Linked DNA regions of Homo sapiens: regions 1, 2 and 4 are each linked to region 3. The links are contacts of gene promoters, found by promoter capture Hi-C in blood cells and fetal thymus (Javierre and others, 2016). All regions are on one chromosome and are shown on one strand. Each heading gives the region's core, a stretch centred on a gene start or on the middle of the fragment in contact. The rest is flanking DNA. Distances are from core to core; before and after follow the strand shown. Region 1 has its middle 90 kb from the start of HAPSTR1. Region 2 overlaps TMEM114 (transmembrane protein 114). Region 3 holds the start of GRIN2A (glutamate ionotropic receptor NMDA type subunit 2A). Region 4 has its middle 37 kb from the start of HAPSTR1.

Evidence for each region. Contacts are between HindIII fragments. The CHiCAGO score rates a contact against its expected background, and 5 or more counts as called.
Region 1: a fragment that was not itself captured here is called in contact with the fragment with the promoter of GRIN2A in region 3 in 3 of 17 cell types (endothelial precursors, M2 macrophages and M0 macrophages); the score reaches 8.0 in endothelial precursors.
Region 2: a fragment that was not itself captured here is called in contact with the fragment with the promoter of GRIN2A in region 3 in 7 of 17 cell types (naive CD8 T cells, non-activated CD4 T cells, total B cells and 4 more); the score reaches 14.3 in naive CD8 T cells.
Region 4: a fragment that was not itself captured here is called in contact with the fragment with the promoter of GRIN2A in region 3 in 1 of 17 cell types (M0 macrophages); the score reaches 5.8 in M0 macrophages.

Annotation. Positions count from the first base shown.
Region 1 is chr16:9,180,204-9,182,910 of GRCh38, reverse strand. No RefSeq gene overlaps it. Among named protein-coding and RNA genes, the nearest start is that of HAPSTR1, 90 kb to the right of the region's middle. The HindIII fragment of the contact is 4,120 bases long and covers 1-2,707 here.
Region 2 is chr16:8,569,435-8,572,219 of GRCh38, reverse strand. TMEM114 (transmembrane protein 114) reads left to right here. Exons shown (of 4, transcript NM_001146336.2): 3 at 1-133; 4 at 2,215-2,720. The coding sequence ends at 2,447. Among named protein-coding and RNA genes, the nearest start is that of TMEM114, 20 kb to the left of the region's middle. The HindIII fragment of the contact is 2,177 bases long and covers 423-2,599 here.
Region 3 is chr16:10,181,012-10,183,896 of GRCh38, reverse strand. It overlaps GRIN2A (glutamate ionotropic receptor NMDA type subunit 2A), which reads left to right and starts at 1,469. Exons shown (of 13, transcript NM_001134407.3): 1 at 1,469-2,020. RefSeq lists silencers at 2,202-2,261, 2,272-2,381. The HindIII fragment of the contact is 14,826 bases long and covers 1-2,885 here.
Region 4 is chr16:9,127,652-9,130,612 of GRCh38, reverse strand. No RefSeq gene overlaps it. Among named protein-coding and RNA genes, the nearest start is that of HAPSTR1, 37 kb to the right of the region's middle. RefSeq lists enhancers at 2,467-2,546, 2,617-2,726, 2,707-2,961, 2,376-2,961. The HindIII fragment of the contact is 4,774 bases long and covers 1-2,961 here.

The sequences.
Region 1 (2,707 bases), core at 3-2,502, 1.0 Mb after region 3:
AGGAGGTTAATAAAAACTAGCTGGGCCTCCCTGAAACTGTTCCAAAGCTCAACCTCTTTCTAGAGCTTGCTTCCAAGAAAGGAACCCCGAAATGAAGAGGCCAGGTCTTCCATGAAGTATGTGGGGCAGGAGTGATCTCTGTCTAGCTACATGCAAAGCGTCTGTTACGGGTTTAATTGTGTCACCCAAAAGAGATACATTGAAGTCCTATCTGCAGCACCTCAGAATGTGACCTTATCTGGAAATAGGGTCTTTGCAGCTATAATTAGTTACATTAAGATGGGCTCATACCAAAGTAGTGTGGGTCCTTAATCCATTATGACTGATGTCCTTACAAGAAGAGGGTAAGACCAGGCGTGGTGGCTCATGCTTGTAATTCCAGTACTTTGGGAGGCCAGGGCAGGTGGATCACCTGAGGTGAGGAGTTCAAGACCAGCCTGACCAACATGGCAAAAGCCTGTCTCTACTAAAAATACAAAAAATTATCCAGGCATGGTGGCATGCACCTGTAGTGCCAGCTTCTTGGGAGGCAGAGGTTGCATTGAGCCAAGATCATGCCACTGCACTCCAGCCTGGGCACCAGAGGAAGACTCTGTCTCAAATAACTAAATAGGAGAAGAGACAGAGACACCGAGGGAAGAGGCCAGTGATGACAGATGCAAAGGTTGCAGTGACGCATCTACGAGCAAAGAAACTCCAGGACTGCTGGCAGCCACCAAGAGCCAGGAAAAAGCAAAGCACGATGCTCTCCTAAGTCTTCAGAAAGAGGATGGTCCTGCCCACACCTTGCTTTCAGACTTCCAGCCTCCAGAACTGTGAGAGAATAAATTCCTGTTATTTTAAGCTACTTGGTGTGTGATAATTTGTTACGGCAGTCATAGGAAACAGATACATCTCACAGTTCAAAAAGACAGAAGTTGCACCACCCAGACCAGTCACAGTGGCTCACGCCTATAATCCCAGCACTTTGGGAGACCAAGGAGGGCGGATCACTTGAGGCCAGGAGTTTGAGACCAGCCTCAGCAAAATGCCAAAACCCATCTCTACAAAAAAAAAAATACAAAAATTAGTTGGCCATGGTGGTGCGTGTCTATGGTCCCAGTTACTGGGGAGGCTGAGGTGGGAAGATTGTTTGAACCCAGGAGGTCTAGGCTGCAGTGAGCTGAGATCGTGCCACAGTACTCCAACCTGGACAACAGAACAAGACCCTGTCTCAAAGGAAGAAAAAAAGCTGCACTACCCTGTGTATCATAATCCCAGTTCACACACCTTTTCCAGCTTCCCCGCCTTTACATATGATGCCCCTTCCCCCAGAAAGCCCACCTCTCCCTTTGTCTGCCCAACAAAATTCCATTCACTTTTTATTTTCTTTTCCTTTTTTTTTTTTTTTTTTTTTTTAAATACAGGGCCTCACTGTTGCCCTGGCTGGAGTGCAATCCTCCCACCTTAGCCTCCCAAGTATCTGAGGCTACAGGCATGTGCCACCACACCTGGCTAATTTTTGTATTTTTATTATAGACTTGGTTTCGCTATGTTTCCCAGGCTGGTCTCAAACTCCTGGGCTCAAGCAATCTACCTGCCTCGGGCTCCCAAAGTACTGCGATTACAGGCAAAAGCCACCACACCCACCATCTACTCACTTTTTCAAGGTACATCTTAGATGTCACCTCCTCCAGGAAGCCCTCTCTGACCTCTCACACTCCCCACCACCACCATTGCTCTTGTATATTTCACCAGTGCAGCACTTGTCCCATTGTAGGACAATCGTCCGTTCATGAGTCTGCCTTCCCGGCTGGAGGATGAGCTCACAGAAGCCAGAGAACTCACTCACATCCCTAGTACCCACAAAGGCCTGGCCCAGAATTCCTCATCGGAACCAGAGTTCAGCTACATTCTTAATTAACAGTTTCGCCTCAGTGTATCTGTAACACTTTCTTCCTTCTGTAAAAGAGAGATCTGAAGCAAGCGTGACAAAATGCTAACATCTATTAACTCTCTAGGGTACATACACGGGTGTCATATTATTTCTTGTACTTTTCTGAAGGTTTGAAATATTTCCTAATGAAAATGTTCTCAGCCTTAAAAATGCAATGTAATGGGCTATCATGGACCACCACCAGTTCACCAGAGTGATTTCTTCTGGAAAAAGGCATCTCTAGTTCAAAGCATGCACCCTCGAGCACATTTGGAGGACTCAGCGCACCCTTGTGTCTGGGAAGGAGGAATATTTCTCAAGCGCCCCCAATGTGCTCTTGATTATGTTATTCCTGTTTTCATTATGACTGCAATCCTATGAGATCATTTGACTGTTTCCTTTTTTCAGAAAACAGACTTGTCATGGGGTGCAGTGGCTCACACCTGTAATCCCCACATTTTGGGAGGCTGAGGCTGGCAGATCACCTGAGGTCAGGAGTTTGAGACCAGCCTGGCCAACATGCTGAAACCTCGTCTGTACTAAAAATACAAAAATTAGCCTGGCGTGGTGGCAGGCACCTGTAATCCCAGCTACTTGGGAAGCTGAGGCAGGAGAATTGCTTGAACCTGAGAGCCAGAGGTTGCAGTGAGCCGAGATCGTGCCACTGCACTCCAGCCTGGGCGACAGAGCGAGACTCCGTCTCCAAAATAAAAAGAAGAGAAACTTGCCCTAGGTCATTGATAGGGTTTGGATCTGTGTCCCCAACCAAATCTCGTGTTCAGTTGTAGTCCC
Region 2 (2,785 bases), core at 262-2,761, 1.6 Mb after region 3:
CATGGGACATTTGTGATTCTGCTGCCGCTCAGCCTGATCCTGATGGTTTTTGGGGGGATGACGGGGTTTCTGAGCTTCCTCCTCCAAGCCTACCTCCTCCTCCTGCTCACTGGAATTCTCTTCCTCTTTGGAGGTAGGTGCCCACCCTGCCTAGGGCTCTGGCTTGTGGTCTGGGGGTTGGGCAATGGGTACTGTGTATGAACCCTCAGCAAACGAGGGGGATCCCAGGGCCTCGTGGGGTTCAGTTTCCCCTTCTGGGATATCAGTTGGAAGAGATGAGTGGTTTCCAGCCCAGAATCACTTAGTCTCTGGTTCCAAGACAGGAGCAGTGCAGAGGGAGCAGCTTCCAAGAATCCTTTTCATTACTTCACCAAAGAAGCCGCATGTATTACCTTTGCCCAAACTCGTGATAGCTTCAAGCTTTAGGGCTGTGAGCTGGCAGGAGACCCTCGCTCCAGCCACCCTCGCTCTATTCTGCTGATCAGCCATTCTGATAGATACTGCTTTGATCGACTAAAAAACGGGCATGACCAGGCACAGAAAGACAAACACCTCATGATCTTTCTATGTAGAATCTAGAAGAGTCAAATTCACAGAAAGAGAGAATGGAACAGGCTGGGGGTGGGGGCAGGGGAGGGTGGGGAGATGTTGGTCAAAGAACACACAATTTCAGCTGAAAAGAAGGAAGTTCAGTGATCTATTGGGCGTCATGGTGACAGCAGTTAACAACAGCCTATTGTGTTCTTGAAAATCGCTGAGAGTAGATTTTAGTTCTCACCACACACAAAAGAAATGCTAAGTATGTGAGGCCGTGCCTGTGTTGAATAGTTTGACCGAGCCACTCCACAGTGTACACACACATATCAAATCCTCATGCTGTGTACCGTAAATACATACAATTTTTACTTGTCAATTAAACAGCAGCACACACAAAAACAAGATGAAACAAAACAACAGGTGGACAGACAATGGCTAGGTTAACACCACTGGTTGGTTTAGTGGACCAGAGGTTTTGAAAAATGGGACCTGGCACGTGGCTGGCTGCCTTAAAGGCTGTCTGTATCCCTGTGTATTTGAAATGTTCCTTTTAAAAAAAAAAAAAAGCAGTGATGACATGCTCCCTTGGAATCCACAGAGGAAAAAAAACAAAAGGGATGTCTGGAGGTGAAAATATTGCAAAGTTCTCATCTCCTCTAACCACTCACTATTATTATTACTATTAGCATTAATAGTTCACCCAGTGACAAATTCTCGAAACCAGCACTGCCTGGTAGAAGTTTCTGTGATGGTGGAGAAGTTCCCTAATCCATGCCGAGCATCGGGAGCTGCAAACCAGGCCAGGGCAGTGAGTGCTGATGGGGGACTGAGCTGTTAACTTCATTTAGATTAGTTAACTTAAATTTAAATAGCCATGTGTAACTGGTCAGTGGCTATCGTACTGGACCATGTGGCTCAAATCTAATATCTGTGGAGAACCACCGTGGGCCAGGCACCGTTCTCGGTGCTGGGGAATTGAAAATGAGCAAAACCAACAGGAGCATGTCTGCCCTCTGGACACTCACAGGCCACTGGGGGAGACAGATGTTAGTTAAATAATTACACAAACATGCCTGCAATCCCAGCACGTTAGGAGGCAGAGACAGGCGGATCACTTGAGGTCAGGAGTTTGAGACCAGTCTGGCCAATATGGTGAAACCCTGTCTCTACTAAAAATACAAACATTAGCCGGGCGCGGTGGCGGGCATCTGTATTCCCAGCTACTCAGGAGGCTGAGGCAGGAGAATAGCTTGAACCCGGGAGGTGGAGGTTGCAGCAAGCTGAGATCGCAGCAAGCTGAGATCGCACCGCTGCACTCCAGCCTGGGCGACAGAGCGAGACTCTGTCTAAAAAAAAATTACACAAAAGAATGCAAAGTTGCAATTGTGACCTGGGCAGTGATGGGCAGCTGTATGGTGCTGTGGAATCACTGCTCAGGCAAGTCCAGGAATCGAAGCGTGAGCTGCCATGTGTGGGAAGGGTAGGAGTTGCCGATGACAGGCAGAGAAGCAGGGGTGAATGCACCCAGCGGGGAGACTAGCACGCGCAAAGGTCCCGCAGCAGGAAGGAGCGAGGACGCTGGACGCTGAGCAGCGTGGCTGGGCAGGGCGAGGAGGAGGAGGGGAGTGCTGGGGCGGGGTGGGGGATTGATCTGCTCTCCCTTTGCCCTCCCTGCAGCCATGGTGACCCTCGCTGGGATCAGCGTCTACATAGCGTATTCAGCCGCCGCCTTCCGGGAGGCGCTGTGTCTCTTGGAGGAGAAGGCCCTCCTGGACCAGGTGGACATCAGCTTCGGCTGGTCCCTGGCCCTGGGCTGGATCAGCTTCATCGCCGAGCTGCTCACCGGGGCAGCCTTCCTGGCAGCAGCCCGCGAGCTCAGCCTGAGACGGAGGCAGGACCAGGCCATATGAGCCTGGGCGCTGGGTCGTGGAGGGGAGGGAGGGGCTTGGCCCCGGAGCTTCACCGACCGATCTCCATCGGCTGCGGCCTCTTCTTCCTCAAAGGCCACTCGGGGAGGCCAGGCACCCCCCTCCTTCCCCCACAAATCCCCGCGGACTAAGCTTGGGGCCTGGCTGTTATCCTAGTACCTGTGTGCTTATGTCCGTGTGTGTCCGTGTGGCCTGGAGGAGCCCGAGGGAGTGCCAAACCGCTTCGCGAGAAATAAAAACGATCCTTTAATCACACACAGAGCTTTACAGATTGCAAAGTCCTCACGCCCCCTCCGACTTCATTTCCTCCTCACCCATGT
Region 3 (2,885 bases), core at 220-2,719:
ATATAAAAGGGGCAGAGCTCCTCCCTTGACCATGTATTTCATGCCCAGTCGCTAGAATTCAAGTCAACCAAGCCCTCACACACCCGGGCCGTCCCATGTTCTCTGGCTCACCTCTTCTGGTAGCTTAGAAGTGGCAGCCTCAGGGAGGCTTCTGTTTGGTAGAACTTAGAAGGAAGCATGTGGGAAATGCAGATGTCTTTGCTTTTAGGATTCTGGCTCCCTGAGATCAGAGGAGTGGGTTCCCGTACGGGGGTGGCGAGGCACAGGGAGAAGCATTGGAGCAGACTCTGTGTGTGTGTGTGTGTGTGTGTGTGTGTGTGTGTGTGTGTCGGCGCGCCTGTGCGTGGAGGGGGATAACTGTACCCAGCGCGAGGCACTGGGGGAGGAGGAAGCGGTAGCAGAGATCTGAATAATTGATTCTTCAGCCGCACCAGACGCCCGGGAGCGGGCGGAGAGCGTGGTTCCAACACCACGGACAGCAGCGCGCGCCGCCGCAGGCGCCCCCGTCGCCAGCCAGCCACCTATCCTGGCCTTATTTGCCGCCGTGCGCTCTCGGAACGGGTGGCCGCGCTCCGCGTCGCCGCCGAGGGACTGCGGGGTCTGTCTCGACCCACCTAGGAGAGAGGCTGCGGGCAGGAGACGCTTTCGCCCGCCGGAGCTCGAAGCCTCTTGGGCTTGAGCGGGGGCTACTGCGTCTCGCCGGCTGAGAACAAGTCCCTAAGTTGGTGTGGAGGGCGCCGCTACCTTCCTTCTCCTCTTCCTCGGAGGCGACCGCAGCAGAAAGACGCCCCGGGAACCCGGCTTTGCCAGTGCTGTGAACCAGGGTGTCCAGGCGCTCACCGGACTCCCGCTGGGAAGTGGGGAGCCGAACGCCCGGCGCGGAGCTGGCCCAGCAGCGAAGGGCCCGGAGGGAGCTGCCTTTCCCCGCCCGCGCCTCTCTCGGCCGGGGACCGCGGGGATCCCCGGCCACACGCGAGCGCGCTCCCACACTCACACACACACTCGCCCTCAAACACACCAGCCCGGAGCTGGGTTGCGGAGAGGGTGCTCCGGCGCGCTCAGAGGACCGGGCAGTTGCCGTCCGGAGTGGGGCAGGAAGCGGAGCTAGGGATCTTGGAGGGGAGCTCCTAGGGCTTGGCCGGATCATGGGACCGGGTGAGCGCTGAGAATCGCGGCCGCAGCCATCAGCCCTGGAGATGACCAGGAGCGGCCACTGCTGAGAACTATGTGGAGAGAGGCTGCGGTGAGTGCTAGCGCGGGACGCCGGGCCTGGGAGGCCCCCTTGGGAAGGGGGGAGGTGGGAGGCCTGAAGAGGGAGGAAGCGGCAGGATCACAAGAGGGTCGCTGCGTGGGAAAGATCCACCTCCCTCGGGGAACCGGGACCGCGGGAGCCCGCGTCCTTCCCTCCCCCTCTCCTACTGCTGGCTCGTCACAAACTCAGCCAGCGCCCCCCCACCCTCGTTACCTCCTCTTTCTCTCCCTACCTCCCTCGCTCAGCAGCTCCCGGTCGCACAACTCCCAGCAGCCGGCGCTGGGGAGGTGGTAGGGGGTGCGGGTGGAGGTGCCCAGTTAGCTTCTCGTGGGTGGCCAACCTGGGGCTCCCATTCTCCTGTGCACCCTGGAGTGGAGCTCCCGCTATCAGCCACAGGGGCTGAGGATCCGCACTGGGGGCGTCGTGGGCATCGGGCTTCAGCTTCCCCCCTCTTGTCTAGCCCCCCTGGGCGCATAGGGGGGCTTGTGAGCACTGCAGACTGCAGCCTTCCCCTCAACCCTCCCTCCCCTCGTTGGTGGGCTGACCCTGCCTCTCCTTCTCTCCTCCGCCCCGTTAGAGCCCTGCTGCAGAGCCTCCGGCTGGGATAGCCGCCCCCCGTGGGGGCGATGCGGACAGCGCGGGACAGCCAGGGGAGCGCGCTGGGGCCGCAGCATGCGGGAACCCGCTAAACCCGGTGGCTGCTGAGGCGGCCGAGATGCTCGTGCGCGCAGCGCGCCCCACTGCATCCTCGACCTTCTCGGGCTACAGGTACGTCCCAGAGGGAGATCAGGGCTCCTTGGGCCGGGGAGGAGGGAGACTCGACCGGAGGGAGAGCGGGAGAGGGATCAGGCTAGAGAGGGAGAGGGAAAGCGGGAGGGAGCCCAGCGGCGAAGTGCAGGAGGGGCACCAGGGGGCGCTGCGGCTCCGCGCTCCGCGGCGCTTACCCAGGAACGTCGAGGCCTCTTGGAGTTCGCCTCAACTTCCCCCGGCTCCAGCAGCGTCCGTCCCGAGAGGCGCGCGTCAGGGCACGCGTGCACGACCGTGCTGGTATTTGCAGGTACGCAGGGCTGTGCACCTGCCGCAGTTCATGCGTGTGCACCACCTGAGGACATGTGAGGACTCCGGCTGGCCGTGGGCACCGCTACAGCAGTCTGAGGAAGTGCGCAGAAAAGCGCGCGTGCCTATGAGCGTGTGCGGCCCACTGCCCACGTGCACCTAGGACTTGGCAACAGCGCCCGCAGTAGAAAGGCTAGGGAGGGGCTGTACAGTCCACGTCCGTCTGGGAGCTTCTTGGGAGCCTACCTTTCCCCCTACGCACGTTCTTTGCCAGCTCCTACGCGCTGGCCCGCGGGGGGACGCGCCTACTCTCCAGAATTCAGCATTGCACACGGCGCGCGTGAGAGAGGGTGTGTGTGTGTGAACATGTGTGTGTGCGTGTGTGTGTGCACGTGTGTGTGCACGCGCGCGTGTAGGGGTGAAGGACTCTCCACGGCCCCTTGGCTCGAGGTGGGGCGAGCCCCAAGTTCCCCAGGCACAGCGGAGCCTGGGCCCACCAGGCAGCGTCCTCACTCCCAAGCACTTGGGGTGTACTCTGACTGAGAGGAGCCGGGTCTGTAGTTGGGGCTGGGCGTAG
Region 4 (2,961 bases), core at 201-2,700, 1.1 Mb after region 3:
CTCGGCCTCCCAAAGTGCTACCATTACAGGTGTGAGCCACTGTGCCTGACCTTAATTCTGTTTTATCTCAAAATTTATTTAGCTATTCTCAGCTGTGAATTCTTTGAGCCAAACATGAATACAGTACTTCCGATCAGTTTCCCAAAATCCCTTTGGATTTGTGTTAGAACTATAATTTGCAAAGAAATAGCACTTAGGTGTGAAGAGGGTATGAAACCTCATCTTTACAAAAAATAAATTAGATGGGTCTGGTAATGCACACCTGTAGTCCCAGCTCGGTAGGCTGAGGTGGGAGGATTGCTTAAGCCTGGGAGTCTGAGGCTGCAGTGAGTTATGATTGTGTTACTGCACTTCAGCCTAGGTAACACAGCGAGACCTTGTCTCAAAAAAAAAGTGGGGGGGCATTTTGCTTAGGGTCACACAACTCAGTAAGTGGTGGGGCCAGGATTCAATCAGGCAGCCTGTCTCCAGAGACTGCGCATCGGCATTATTTTGTTTAGTCCTGTCGTATTTTCTTTAGTATTCTAAACCAGCCACCTTAATAAAGAATTCTATTTTTCTCATAAAGAAAAAGCATAATTTGGAGCCCGCCACAGTGGTGTGCACCTGTAGTCCCAACTACTCAGGAGGCTGAGGAAACAAGATCACTTGAATCTAGGAGTTTGATGCCAGCCTGGACAACATAGTTGAGACCCTGTCTCAAAAAAAATTTTAATTAAAATTTTAGGCCAGGAGTAGTGGCTCATGCCTGTAATCCCAGCACTTTGGGAGGCCAAGGCGGGTGGATCATGAGGTAAGCAGTTTGAGACCAGCCTCACCAACATGGTAAAACCCCGTCTCTACTAAAAATACAAAAAAATTAGCTGGGCGTGGTGGCGGGCGCCTGTAATCCCAGCGACTTGGGAGGCTGAGGCAGGAGAATTGCTTGAAATCGGAAGTCGGAGGTTGCAGTGAGCCGAAATTGCGCCACTGCACTCTAGCCTGGGCAATAAGAGCCAAACTCCATCTCAAAAAAAAAAAAAACACTAAAATTTTAGGCCAGGCACAGTGGCTCACGCCTGTAATCCCAGCACTCTGGAAAGCTGACATGGGCAGATCACCTGAGGTCAGGAGTTCAAGACCATCCTGGCCAACATGGTGAAACTCCGTCTCTACTAAAAATACAAAAATTAGCTGGGCGTGGTGGCAGGCGCCTGTAATCCCAGCTACTGAAGAGGCTGACGCAGAAGAATCACTTGAACCTGGGAGGCAGAGGCTGCAGTGAGCCAAGATTGCACCACTGTACTCCAGCCTGGGCAACAGAGCAACACTGTCTCAAAAAAATTAAATTAAATTAAATTTTTTTAAAAGGCATAATTCAGTGGAAAAAGCATCAACAGGAAACTATTCTCTCTCTCTCTGCTTACACAGGGAACCACCACCGTTTATCTGGAGTGAATAAAAAGCCAAGTTAAACACATAAAAGTGACCCCACATGTCATTCTCCTGGATCACATGCTCCACGGAAGCAAGGGTTGTGCTCTGATAGGATCAGGTAAGGAAATGTTGCACAGGGGAAGAGGGCCTGGACCTTACAGAGAGAAAATCCTAAGTGAGAGTCGCAACTGGACATCTCACACAAATCACTCCACCTTTCTGAGCATCAGCAAAACAGGCACAAACACGTCCCTTGGGGATGTGCATGGAAAGCACCCAGGAGCCGGCTGGGGAATGGGCTTATCAAGACGACTGTGGTGACTGGCCCCTCGCATCCCACTGTGGGCATTTCATGAATTCTTGCAGGATTGGTGGACTTCCAGTTTGTCTTGTCCCCACTCTCCTGCCTACAGAGAAGCTAGAGCCTGCTTTGCACACAGCCATAGATTTGTCTGCTGCCAAAGGATAACAGGATTACAGCCACAACCAAGAGCCCTAGGGTCCTATAGAACAGAGCCCCGAAGGGCAGGCCCAGGGCACCACCAGGACCCCACCTGGTAGTGTGGAAACGGGAAGATGTTTGGGGCGGGGGGAGCAGGTTCTAAACCCAGAGAATAAGCACCTGCGAGTACAGTTCACTGATTCCTGAGCATTCCAGCCCAGAACCCCAGATCCAGGACAGGCGAGGGAGCCCATTTTAGAGATGGGGATAGTGAGGCCCAGAGAGCTGTTTCCGAAGGAGCATGGAAGCGTACCTGCCCATTTTCCCAGGTGTCCTGACCCAAGAGAAGCCAAAGACAGCCCTGTCCACAGATGTGCTTGGTGGGTCAACCTGGTCTGTTTTTAAATACACAGGTTCAAGTGTCCTTAAACAGATGTGCACTCTGCGAATCGCTGTGGTCTCAGGCTGCCAGCATCTGAATGCACCACCCCAAGCAAACAGGATGCATTTTCACAATTAACTTGGGGTTTTATCACCCAGTTTGAGACAAAAGGCAGCGGAGCCCAGACAGGGCAGTGAGTTAAACAAGGTTAGCAAGTAAATGCCCAGCACTACAGGTCCTTCTGGGCACAAATGGCTCAGTGAACCAGACTGGGCACTCGGAGACGGAGAGGTGGTTCCTCAGGGGAACTGAAAATCCGGGTGGGGAAAAGAGGACGTGTCTGAGCTGTGGAATCTGGCAGCAGACCCCCCTCGCTTCAAATCCTGACTCAAGAAGTTCTGGGCCCGTTTGTCAGCACCCCATTCGCCACCAGGGACCTCCCAGGACAAGCCCTGCCGTGGGAAAACTGTCGCTTTAAGGGTCTGGTGGGCAGGCCCAGCCATTTCCATGGAGCAGACTCTGAGCTGTTTCTGTCTTTCAAAAACCAAGGCCCCAACAGGAAGTGAGTCACCACAGGAAAATACAGGGTTCCCAGCCTTAGGGGGCTCGAGGCTGACCTCAGATGCCCCCGTGGGGGTCAGGCCTTTGTAGGTGCATGGCTCTGTGGGTGGGGAAAGATTATTTCAGCATTTGCTGACATCATTGAATGGTGTGTGACTGA